Linked DNA regions of Homo sapiens: region 2 is linked to region 1. Evidence: promoter capture Hi-C in human tissues and cell types (Jung and others, 2019). All regions are on one chromosome and are shown on one strand. The core of a region is centred on a gene start or on the middle of the fragment in contact, and the rest is flanking DNA. Distances in the headings are between cores, read along the strand shown.

What was found. Contacts are between HindIII fragments. The study calls those that stand out against the background at their distance.
Region 2: a contact is called between a fragment that was not itself captured here and the fragment with the promoter of LMX1A in region 1, in 1 of the 25 tissues and cell types used here (H1 embryonic stem cells).

Annotation. Positions count from the first base shown.
Region 1 is chr1:165,355,112-165,361,657 of GRCh38, forward strand. LMX1A (LIM homeobox transcription factor 1 alpha) reads right to left here and starts at 1,604. Exons shown (of 9, transcript NM_177398.4): 1 at 1,244-1,604; 2 at 373-470. The coding sequence starts at 448. The HindIII fragment of the contact is 8,258 bases long and covers 1-6,546 here.
Region 2 is chr1:165,302,052-165,308,846 of GRCh38, forward strand. All of the region lies in intron 3 of LMX1A (LIM homeobox transcription factor 1 alpha), which reads right to left. Among named protein-coding and RNA genes, the nearest start is that of LMX1A, 51 kb to the right of the region's middle. RefSeq lists an enhancer at 3,211-3,380 and a cis regulatory region at 3,296. The HindIII fragment of the contact is 3,381 bases long and covers 1,445-4,825 here.

The sequences.
Region 1 (6,546 bases), core at 354-2,853:
TCGGATGCTATTGCCTCTAGGCCGCGAGAAGAGGGCGGCATTTATGAGACGTCGATCAGCTCCGAGATTAAAAATCCAGCCCTGGGTATTTTTAATCACTTGCCACTCAGACGCCTACGAACAAGCTCGCCCGCCCCTCGCGGCTTTGGGGAATTCGGTGCCCAGTGCGTGAGGCCTGGGGCGGCTTGTTGGATTTATTTGGGTAGGGACGACCCACAAGCACTGACGGACAGATAGTGATGGGGCTCAATTTAGTGTATGAAGAGGGGCGCTAGCTTCCCTATCGCGGACCAGGTCCCAGAGAGCGGGGCTCCAGAGCTCAGCGCCAAGCGGAAAGAGAGTGCGCCCAGGACGCACGGCCTGAACACTCACCCAGCAGCGAGGAGAAGGAGGCCGAGGTGTCGATCGCGCTTTGGAAGTTCTCCTCCATCTTTAGGCCGTCCAGCATGTTCGGGCCGGGCCGGGAGGACCTGTAGAGGAGAAGAAACGATGCGTCTGACGTCCGTGCCCGCTGGGACTCGGCGCCAGCAGCCACCGCACTCCTGGGAAAGAACTGAGGGAGTGTCCAGGGCGACCAGAATCAGCCAGGAGGATAGGGTCCAGCCAAGAGAATGTAGGGTGGGAGGAGAGATCAGTCACAGCGAACTGCTCTGGCTGATCTGATTTCACTTGAAGTCAACACGTTATGTACTTAGGCCTCCGCCCCCCAACTGCGTTTCTCCTTCTCCTGCCCCCCTCACCCCCACCTACATCCCTTGCCCCAGGTTTTCCATCCCGAATCCGACTCCGCCCCAACCTATACGAAGGTGGGCCCTCGGGACGTCTCTGCAGGAACGCAGCTACTGGGGTATATTGGGTATATAAAGAGTGGGTACCCTCCCTCGAGCGACCGGGTCCAGGCACGCGGGACGATGGGGTTTGCAATCCCGCGTCCCAGCCGCCCCGTTGCGGCCCTCACCTGCCCCAGGTCGAGAAGGGGCACTGTAAGGGACCCGGAGGGCGTCCCGCCCGCTTCTGGACTCCTGGCGCTGCGCTCTGTTGGGGTGCGCGCAGGAGCCGGTGTGCGGGGCGCGCGGGGAGGTCCTCCCGCCAGTCGGCCAGTGCCGGGAATGTCTGCAGAAGCAAAAGAGTCGCCTCGGGGAGGAGCCCCGGCTGGCCCGGCTCACTCTTGGATGCATTTCAAGTCAACTTTCAGAAACACGCCCGCCCGAGCCACAGCCTAGGCACGGGCAGCCTTACTTACCTGGTAGGCGAGCTCTCTCCCAGTGACTGGAGCAGAGAGAAGTTGCGGAGCGCTGCTGGAAGCTTCTGCCCGGGAAGGCGTCGCCCCCGAGACTGCAGCCGGAGGAGCCGCCCTCGGCTTCGGAGCGCCGGGGAGGGAGCCGGAGCGAACGCCGGCCGCTGGCTCTGCTCCTCGGCGCGCCCAGGCTGGGCCGGGACGTGGTCGCGAGCTGCCGGCCTTCCCGGGACGTCCTACCAGCCCGCGTCGCTCCTCAGCGGGAGGAGAGGGCCAGTTGCTTCTCCAAGGCTAGGAGGGAAGGCAGAGGCCCAGGGTCCTGGGTGCGAGTCGGCCCTGCTTCGCCGGGGCGGATCCTGCAGCTTCTGACAGGGGCCGCGGCGCTGCGTGCGCGGCGGCGGAGAGGGGGTGGGGTGCGCTGGGCGGGGGGCTGGCAGCGCGTCCCGTGGCGGGGCCGTGGTGCTCCCTTTCCCAGCCTGGCTGCGCGGCCACCACACGGCCGCTGCCCTCTGAGCCCCTCCGCCTCTGGGAGCTCTCGGACACGCTAAGTTTCCTCCCCTCCACGTGTAACTGTTACCTCGGGGCGCTCTGGCCCGGTCGCCCCCCAGTGCCCCTCACCCCGACTGGGCCTTTGCGGAGATGTCGGCGCCTCCTGGACAGCGGTGCCGCCACGAGGATTCCCCCGCCGCTCTCCAACTGCTGCTATAAAAGCGCTGCAATCCTTACCCGGGCCCCGGGAAGCGCTGAGAAGCTGTTTAGCGCCAGTAGATGTGGGCCCAGCAGCTCCTAGCTCCTCAAACCCCTCATCACCCGAGGGCTCATGCCAGTTTCCAACTTCCTTTAAGGTCGAACCATATTCACTCATGGGGCGTACAGAGGCCATGGGACTCACGGCCTAAGAATCATGCTCTTGGGAGACACTAGGTGGGATCTGCCCCCCAGATGATGAACTTGCAATGACACTCAACAGGAAATCAGGTAAAGGGACATTGTTAGGGGAACAAAGTATCTGGGGAGAAATGTGAATTATCTGCACCTCCTAACTTTAATTTACAATAACAGACCTTTAGCCCCCTCCAGAGCAGGAATAAGGCCTTATCCGTCTGTATAGCCCAGGAGGTAAGCATGTTGTGTGACCCCAAGTGGATGCTCAATAAATAAATTACAATGCTGGCTAGCGTTTATCGTTTATTTTGTGCCAGCTTTGTTACACAGTCACCTCATTTAATCTTTACAACAACCCCCATGAAGTGGAGACAATTGTTGTCCCAATCTTACAGTTGAGGGAAATGGAAGGGAATTCATGGAATCCGAGTCCCATCATCTGAATACCATGGGAAGGTTCAGTTCAATTCAGTGTGATTCTCTGGGGCACCTTCAGTTCCTAAACTGAACTGAACTGAGATGAAATTGGCAGGCCGTTTGACATGGTGAACTCAGGCAGAGGAGATGCCACATAGCCAGGGTTTTTCTATTACCTCCTCCAAAGACAGAGCCACTTCTTTATTCCTAAAGAAAAAGTGCTGGCAGCAACTTGCTCTAATGTGCTTAGGAGCAGCGACCCCACTAAGCACTAAAAAAGCCATTCTAAGTGCTTTCTGCCAGCAGGCACAAGCCAAACACTGAATATGACTCCAGAAGAAAGAGGGGAAATGGCAAAGAGGCTAATACGTTATATTCGAATGCTGCTTTACAGGCATTTTCACATACATGATTTTGCTTGATCTTTACAGCAAACCTGTGAGGTAGGCAGAACAGTTTTATCTTTTGTTTCAGATGAATCTTTGGAGCTTAGCACGGCTGGGAGATTTCCCTGATGTTGCCCAGATGGCTAGTGGCATGTCTCCTAACACCTGACCTCTGTCCTTTCTGTCACCCCAGGTAGAGCAGGGTGTAAAAAAATACAAACTACAAGTATTATTAGGATAATATGTGAAATAGAAGTTAAGCAAGAAAAAAATGGAATAGGGCAGATACAACCATAAGGAATGTTTTTATGTAAATACCCGGCAGAATTTTGGTTTCACTAAAGGTCTTATATGAAATATATGAAATACATTTTAACTAGTGGTAAGACTATTCCTTTTAGTGAATATCCTGAAAGTAGATAGATTGTCATTTGACCTGAAACTCAAATCTTTCAAACAATTCTTACATCCACCCACAAGGCCGCTTGATTAGTGTAGATCACACAGGTTTTTGGTGAGAATGTCTCCCCAGCCATTGGGCACTTCAGGATGGGGACGGTGCCTCAAAAATCACATCATAAGTCATATCACTTTTAGTGCAGACCTAGACACATACAATTGATGAACAAATGCCTTTTACTTGGTTGAGGAATGAATAGAACTCTCACTACAGTCAGAAGGCACTGCAGTGAAGGGTCAGGAATCAAAGGACCTCCGTTCCATTCCCAGCTTTGCCACTGAATTGGTCTGGGCCATCAGTTCACCTCTTTAGATGTCAATACCTCTCTGGAATGAAGGGTCTACATTATGTGGTTGGTCAGGCCCTCACAGTCTAAAGTCTGTGAAACCAGTCCAGTGGGGTAGGCAGTGGGGTAGCTTTGGCCAGTGGGGTAGGCAGTAGAACCAACAGATCCATATGAGGTGCTGAGCAGTGGTTGCCTAGGTATAGTCTTGGCTGATGTGTTTAAGTGATGTGTCTAAACCAATAAAGATAAAACTTATTTATTCGGAGTTTTCTCTTTTGTGATTTATTTGCCCTCTTTCAATGAAGTAGGAGTCATGAATCCCATTCCTACCCAAGGATTGTTTCAGTTTGGCCTTATCCAACTCAGTGACATGGATGGGTGAGACGATCACAGGTGGATCATTCTGACCCCTCTATGAAAGATCCTCCTAACCATGCCTCGTGTTTTTCCTTGTGATTTAAACTCAAACACTTTTATTTTACCTTTTAAATGAAAGAAGATGCCACAGAGCCACTGCCCAGAAGCCATTTATGAAGAATCAGCCATCTTCTCCCTTTTATCAAAAAGAAGTACTCTGAGAATACATGGGAATGAGGTGAATAGGCTTCAGAGGGGACTCAAAAGATTACACGTTTAGAGTTGGAAATGATTTTAAAGCTCATGTGGTCCAACCATTTAGTTTGTAATGGATCAAAATTCATTTCCCTAAAGTTTCCACCCTCTGTTCCATTGATTCCTCGGGGCTAGCCATTCAGGAAGTCAAATCCTGCCTCTAAAACTTTTAGATGAAGGCAGAGCTGGCCTCACTCTCCTGCCCAGTCTTCGAATCTGATCCAGTTTTCCTGTCTCTTATAAATTATGGCACCCAGGCCTGCTGTGAGTTTCCAGTGATAGTGTATTCAGGGTGTTTCTCAAGCAATATAACACCCATTAATGTTCCTGATTTTGTATGAGCATTTTCTTTTTTTTTTTTTTTTTTTTTTTTTTTTTGAGATGGAGTCTCTCTGTGCCGCCCAGGCTGAAGTGCAGTGGTGCGATCTCGGCTCACTGCAAGCTCCGCCTCCCGGGTTCAAGCCATTCTCCTGCCTCAGCCTCCCGAGGCATCCACCACCACGCCCAGCTAATTTTTTTGTCTTTTTAGTAGAGATGGGTTTTCACCGTGTTAGCCAGGATGGTCTAGATCTCCTGACCTCTTGATCCACCCGCCTCAGCCTCCCAAAGTGCTGGGATTACAGGTGTAAGCTACCACGCCCGGCCTTGTGTGCATTTCAATGGCTGCTGTTGACTCACACTTATGTGTCATTAATAAAACCTCCTCAGTCCTTTTCCACATGGTCTGCTGGTAGGGCCCATCTCTGCCATATCGCGTTTGTACAATTGATGTTTGAATCCAAGTGTGAAATTTATCCCTGCTAAGAGACAGGTAGCTGTTGTATCAGAAATCTTGCAACTTCAAGCAGATCCCAAGAGATCCAGGAACTATGTCTTAAGCCTAGTGCCTTGTTTTGAGAGAGAAATATGTGGCCCTTGCCAAGCTGGTCTGGAAGCGCCATCACTGGAGGAAGACAGGCCAGGACCAATCAATGGGTGTATCTGTGGGTCCCAGGGGTAGCAAGACCTTGTAACTTGGGGATACTTCTCCAAGTAGAAGGTTTCCCTGATCCTGTTCCAATTCTGTCATCTGTCTTCAGTCCAATAGCGATTTGTAGAAGATGGGGGTGGGACATGCCAAATAGCTGTGGAGTTACCCCTTCTATGGCAGAAAACAGAGAAGCAAAAATATCAGATACATGAGTCTTTGTGGCTGAGATTTAGGGAGAGGAGTGAGGGTAGAGGAGAGACCAATGCTTGGTGAGAGGGAAGAAAAAAGGGAGGAGGACAGACATCCTGCTATAGAGTGGAGATGACAGGAACACATTTTTTTACTTTCCTTTTCTCGCTCTCATTTCTGTGTTTTATTAAGGGAAATACAAAGGGAAAATTGTGTTATTTGTTTAAAAATGTCAAAGTGCATTTCAAGCAAGAGGAAAAGAAGCAGGAACATTACCGCCTAGAATGGCAATATTCTAACGAGGACAGCCAAAGACTGGCTCATGGTTGTGGGGACACACTTGAACTACACACTACCCTTACCTGGATTATTTTCATGTGAATCCCCCAGTCCTGTGTTGACATTCAGATCTCTCAACAGAGCTGGAGGACCAGGTGCCTCTCATGTTCTAGGGTGAAAGGGCCATCCCAAACCAGCTGCTGGAATAGGAGGAAAGTCTGACAATGCAAATGGGGATATTGTTCCCTAAGCTTAAGGCAGATTCTCCCTCCAGCCTGGCAAGGACAGCCCTAGGCAAGGAGGAGACTTGTCCAGGCTAACAAGAGTACCATTGAAAGCAGCACATTCTTTGGACCTTGCAGTAGAATTATCTACATGCCCACTTTATCTTCCTGTTGTCTCATGAGCTCCTTAAGAAAAGGTTCCACGTCAGACTCCCCTGTGATTCTCCCCAGCATGGCACAGTGCTTCACATACTGAAGAGTCTCCATGAATGTTTGTTGTCTAAGTACAAATGCCCTGAGGTCATCGTCTACTTCATGCCATAGCTCAGCATGCCTTAACTCACATCATAAGTCACATCACTTTTAGTGCAGACCCTAGACACATACAATTGATGAACAAATGCCCTTTACTTGGCTGAGGAATGAGTAGAGCTCTCACTACAGTCAGGAGTGGAAAAAGGCCTGAGTTCAAATCCCAGCACTGACATTAGTAAGCCATTTAATCTTAAATTATTCAACCTCTCCATGTTTCAGTTTCCTTATTGGTACAAGAAGAGGAATGATATTCCCCCGGAGTTATTGTGACAGTTAATAGTGACAA
Region 2 (6,795 bases), core at 1,885-4,384, 52 kb before region 1:
TCACACAGACAGACACTCAAAACAGCAGAGACAATAAGAAACCAAGTCTCCCAAACCCCCTTTTCTGCTTTCCCTCCCTCTGTACTAGTGAAAGAAGAGAATGAGGCTGGGTGTGGTGGCTCACACCTGTAATCTCAGAACATTGGGAGGCCGGTGGGGGGCGGGGTGGATCACCTGAGGTCAGGAGTTCAAGACCAGCCTCGCCAACATGGAGAAACCCCATCTCTACTAAAAATACAAAAATTAGCCGGGTGTTGTGGTGCATGCGTGTAATCCCAGCTACTCAGGTGGCTGAGGCAGGAGAGTTGCTTGAACCCAGGAGATGGAGGTTGCAGTAAGCCAAGATCACACCACTGTACTCCAGCCTGGGCAACAGAGTGAGACTCCATCAAAAAAAATAAAATAAAATAAAGGAAAAAAAAGAAAGAAAAGAAAAGAAAGCAGAGAATGTTCTGAGATGTGGCTGGTGATGCTGACATTGCTTCTGTTCAAAATCTTCCTCCTCACTCATTCACTACCCTTTGCAATGACGATCCATGTCCTTGCCTTCAGTTTCCACTTCTATCCATCAAAACCATCTGTGCCTAAACAATCACTTTTACTTCACCTGGCCATAATGAAGACGAATGACACAGCACTACCACTGAATTTTTGGTAAGGTCATTTTTATTGCTGTCTAATTGCTCAATGACCCTAGGACAATCATCCTTATGTTTCCTCCTCCTTAGAGAAAAGTGCCAGGGTTAGGTTTTTCTCTCTAGGTATGTGAGGAGGCTACCAGTTGCTAGAAATGTAGCCTCCTGTAACTCAGCATAGTTGATTTTCCTCCCAGCTTCTAGGAAGCTCAGAACTAGGTTTCATGTGCTTAACTGAAATGATCCCCTTAGCCTATGTTGTTTGGAACACTTCTTGCTCCACACTACTCCCTTCATTACTTTGCTGTTATTCTTCTATTCTTTTTACAATCATCTTATTATATCTTTGTCTTCATTATAAATTGCTTCAAATCTTCTTTGGAAGGATAGAGTATAAATAATCATAATGAAACACTCAAGACTTTTCAAGCTTTGAGGAGAAAGATAATGTATAATTTTCATGCATCTTGGTCCAAAACCAGGAATGTTGAGCTAGTGAGAACGCTCCTTGTGTGCCAAAATTACCACACAAAACAGTCAGAGAACTCCAAGATGCTCCTGAACCTTAAGGTAAATCTGGGACCTGCTCCCTGTGCTTCCACCATTCCATAGCCCACAGTGTTTCTGCTGCATTTATCCACAAAAGTGATCATCTCCTTTATGGCTCAGAAGTGGCATCTTACTTCTTCCCAATGTGCTGGGGGCTGGGAACGCTTCATGGTTGGCTGACCTTGTACCCACTCTGGTGCTTTGGGTTGTTCATTGATCCTCGTCAAAATTTACAAAAGCACAAGACAGATGAGAAGGGGGAAGTACATTCCTCAGCTGGAAGAGTGGCCAAGTAACCACAAACTGCTGGCCCTCCTGGGATTGTGCTGGTCACGGACTTGGCTTCGGCAGCCCAATGACTTGTTCCTCCAGACATCGCCTACGCCTGCAGTCAGTTATCCTTCACTCAGACCACCAGCCCTCTGGGTCCCAGGGACGCAAAGCATGATGGGAAGTAGGCGGGTACTGGACAGGAATGTAAAGGGCCAAGGTAAGACCAGGAAGGAAGCCACTTCCCCCAGAGTCAGCCTCCTGCTAGATCCTAAGACCCCTCTGCTCTAACAATTATTTTTCTAAACAGCCTCATTCCAAGCTGTGGAGGCTGGGGTGGACTTTAAAGCAGTAGGAACAGAGTATAAAGCTTTCCATATCTTCCACGCAGATATTATATCTAGTATATGGGTGGGATTACCCCACGCCAGAGATTGTTGTTTTCTTAAATTGCAAAGTTTATTACACCCTTCATCTAAGGTGCACAAACCCTGGGCCTGAGAAAGGAAAGGGTCACGGTGGTCACTACATTACACATTGGTTTAATCCTCAGTTCTACTGGTTCTACTGATCCTCAGTTCTGGAGGTGATCAGAATGGAGGTGGTGAAGCCAGGCTCCACTCTTTACTAATAGGGTAACCCTGGGAAAGTTACTTAACCTCTCCAGGCCTCGGTTTCCTCATCTATAAAGTGGGAACAATAATAGAGCCCATCTCATGGGATCAGAAAGCCCATGGTATGTGCCTGGCTTAGGGCAAGTGTCATATAAACTTTAGCCTCTCCCACCCCAAAAATATCTTGTCCTCCAAGATTGTAGTCCAGTCTCAGAAAGAAAAAGGAACTCAATAACCATGAGAGTTGGTTCAGGCTTCTCTCAATTATTTATATAAACAACACATTTCCTGTTTGGGGACTATGTCACCCAAGATATGCCACTTCTAAACTTGGTCATCAGGAGCATGCAGGACTGGTTTGGATATACAGTCAAAGATGAAAATCAGTTATGATTGGGTCTGCTCATTTCTACTTATTTCTACTCCCTCGACCCAGATAATTAAGAATTAACTGCACATGGTTAATGTTCTTATATAAACACAATGCAAATCTTACCATGTCATTCCCCTGCTTCAAGCTTTTCAAAGATCCCTAAACCCAAGTCCCTTCCATGATATCCAAGGATCTCCATGATCTGACCCTCGTTGCCCTTCCCTGCCTCATCACCTGCTAGTCCCTGTCTGGACCTTCATAATCTAGCAATGCTGAACTTCTTTTTTCTCCCTGGTGCCTGGCATCCTCTTCCTTGTCTGGTGCCTTTACTCAGATTGTCCCATCAGCCTGGAAAACTTCCCCTCTCCTCGTCTGCCAAATCTGCTCAGGCATCATCTCCTTCCAGACACCTGTCATGCACCTTCCCCCACCACCTGCCCCACAGCAGGCTGGGTGCATCTACCTCATGCTCCAGTTATAACCTGCACATTGTTTCATCACTCTACACTTACCACTTTGCATTATAAGGATCTCTATTCCTTGTCTCTTGGGCCCTCTAGAGAGTGCCCCCTCCCTGAGATCAAGGAGTGTGTCTGTCTCTCTTGCGTGTGTATGTCTGTGTGTCTCAGGTGCCCAGCACATAGTAGGTGCTAGTGAAAGGAAACACAGAAAGGAAGGTGAGAGACATGTGCAGTTGGACTAGTCAACAGGTAGCGGTAATTTAGCTAAATAGCACACTTCCCAGGTAATGGGGTCGATGGACTCGTCGACACATATTGCCACCCAGCAGTGGCAGGATCCTGGAGAAAGGGCCCCTCCACTGGAAATTTATGACTGAGCAAAGGGGAGAGGAAAGAGAGATGAAGGGAGACAAACTTATGACATATAACACCATCTGGGATGGAATGTTCTAGAAAGCAAGCGTGAGAGGGAACAAAGACATCAAGCAGAGAATCTTGAAGCTTAAGTATGAAAGGACCCAGTAGGCCAAATATCACATTTTAAAATAAACCTCTCCACTCAGGGCCAAAGCAAGAAGAGGGGCTAAGTATCATGAAGCAGAGGAGTCCCTACAACCACTGTCCTTTCTGACACAGCTCCTGGGCAGAGCTTAGCTAACTACACATTCCACAGTGAAAACGTCAAATTGGATATCCATCAGTTGCTCCAAAGAAACACAGAGATACAGAAATCTGACAAAAGTACTGGCAGTATCCAACTTGAATCTGGCTTCTTTTTATCTTTATTATTGGTCTCACTCATGGGCACACAGCCCACATTCACAGTTCTTTGAAAACCACAGCAGGTTAAGTACCAAGACTCCAGAGTTAGGGCCAATGAGATATGATATGGTGAGTGAGCCAAGGAGTGACCAACCAAGAGCCATAGCACATGCAAAACGAGCACAGCCCTGGTCCTGACATTCTGCACACACCTCCAGAGAATTTCCATCCATAGGAGCCCGGACCACAGGAGGAAGGACCAAGGAGAAGTACAATGCGTTACTAGCATGAACGTCATTTGTGAAAACCATGTCCCAGACGTGCGTACAGAAAAAGTCAGCTTTCTCATTGCCCAGCTCCTGTCTGAACCTGTATCCCTAAGCTCTCCCCACACTAAATTCATACCCACCCATCAGACATCCTTTACTCCTCCAACCTTCTTCCTCCCACCTGTTCATCTAGTCTCCAGAGCTCAGGTTAATGGAAATTGTAGATGTGTAACCTTGTGTGATATTTTAGATTATCACTTAATAAATAGTCACTCTCCTGTTGCCCCTCCCTTTGGATATAAATTTCCCTCTTCCACTTAGGTTGGGTTCACCATATGACTTGTTTGGGCAGTGGAATGTGAGTAAATGTGAGTGTGTGGTTTGGCTTCTGTCATTCTCCATGAGAACACATCTAAGTGGCTCTTGATCCAAAAAGAATGTGGAACAATACCTGGACCCCGCCTGAAGCCTGGGTAAGTCCAGGTGACCCATAGTCTGAAACAAAGTTGCCCCTGCCCACCCAGAGACCCAAGGGTGAGAATAAGTGTTTGGCTTTTTTAAGTCTTTAGTTCTAGGATGCTTTGTTATGCAACAGTCCTGTAGCTATAGCTAACCAATACACTCTCAGAAAAGCTCAACTTGATTGCTAGTTTGCTCTTTCTGTATTTTCCTGTATAACACAGTGATGGCTCCTTCCCAAATGTAGTCAGCACAGGATGGGCTCTGAATATCCCCAACAGCCTGTTGGTGGCACTCACACCACAATATATCCAGAATACACAGTGCCTGGTACCTCCCAGAGATGAGATGGCTAGTGGTTTGGCTGCCTCTGCCTGACTTCCCACCATCAGTAGGATTTCCACTCTCCAGTCCTTGTTGAAAGCTGTGTGCGCCATACCACCCTCCTCCGCCTCCCCCTGCCCAGGCAGCACATAGAGTGAAGCGGTCAGCAGGAGAGGGGCTCAGCCTGAGCTGCTGGCAGCAACTCTCCCCATGTCCTCTCGGGCAGAAGCCAGAGGCTGCGTCTGTGCATATGGGCAGTGGTAATGAGAATTCCCTGTGGCTTCATGCAAGGGAATCAGGCAGTGCAGGCAAAGCAGGCCAAACTTCCCTTCTTTTTCCAGAAATGACAGTGAAACAAATGGCAGGAAACTCTTTGTGCTGACCAATACAGGAAGGATTGCCAGGGCACAGCTCTAGAAGTGGGAAGAAAGTGAGAGGAAAGATAAAGGGAGAAAGAGAAAAAGAAAGTGGGAGCGCAACTACAACTTTAGTGTGAATCACTCTATATTACATCATTGGCCTTCACAGCTCTGTCCATCAAATATTACCAAATCCAGTTCCAGAAAGGCTTAAAACTTATAAATATTTGCTATCCAGAAAACATGGTTGATGACATTCCACAAGCATTCTGGATAGCCAAGGTGCCAGATAGGTAGAAAAAAATGAGCTGGTTTGAGTAAGCCCAAGGCCACAGTACAACTTGGGATAGTTCTTAGTTACAAAGGGGCCTATGCCACAGGCAGAATGAAGAAGAGCATCAGGATCCCCTCCCCAAGATTATGCTATGCCTAGAAGGGATTCTGGGAGGTGTGCAGTGCATACATGCTATACATATGTGCTGAGATTGTAGTAGATTCACTCCCATAACCTCCAACCCTCAATACCCTTACAACAGATCCATGTGAGTTTGCAACTAACCCCTACCCACGTCAGCTGGTCCTGGCATTCTGCACATACCTCCAGGGAATTTTCATCCATAGGAGCCTGGACCACAGGTAGAAGGACCAAGGAAAAGTACAATGAGTTATTAGCATGACCGTCACTTGACCATATGTATTTAGACTGGCATTTAGACTCAGAATTTAAATGAAAAACAGTTCCTGAACAACAACACATTTTAAATTTTAACTTTATTTTTAAAAAGACTGTGTGAAGGCCACCAACCATGGCTACAAATGCTCCTCCCCCTTCCTCCTTGGTTCCATAAATGTTGAGTCAGAACAATTTCAGGAGGTCAAGCAGCCAGAGAAGGGCTTCTGGAACTTGCTTGACAACATAAGAAGAAAAAAAGAAGGGAAGGAATCACACATTAAATAAATAGTTTTGAGGAAAAATCAGTCAATATTTTCATAAGGAAATTATTAGTCCAAGACTGAAAGAGATACACTGATGCTATCGTATTCAACATATCCACAGGACAGGAGGCTGGTCCCTGGACCACTGGGGAATACTCGCTGGACACCAAGGAACCACAGTTAGCCCTCTGAGAACCAGATGCCAGGGAGGAGAGCCGATAACACCTTCCATACAAGCTTTGTGGCCAAGTCACACCAGCCTTACTCAGGTTCCTCCAGTGCAAATGGAAATGGTAAGAATTGCAGCAAGAAACAGACAGAATCATTCTGAATTCAATAAGGCTCTATATACATTTTAGATACCATGTGTATGTGATTCCATGATTCTGCAAAGTGTCTGCTAAGAACTGAAGAAAGCAAAGTCCCTAAGGTAACATGATAGGAAAGACATTGAATCTCTTTAATATAATTTTTTAAAACAGTACTGAGCACGTACTTGGTGATTCGCACTTTCTCAAAGTTGTATCATTTAGTCCTCACAACGATTCTATAAAACAAACATTATAATCCCCACTTTACAGGCAAGAAAATTGAGGCTCTGAAAGATTAAGTGACTTGATTGGTCCCCTGGACTTGTGGCTTTTTACTCCCTTGCATTACATTCCACAGCTTGGGTCTATGTGAGTGTAATGAGTGACTTTTCCTGGGCCTATTAATTTAGAGACAGAATCTGTGCCAGTGCATCCACTCCCAGTCTCTGCCTCAGAAGACACTTGAGAAGTCA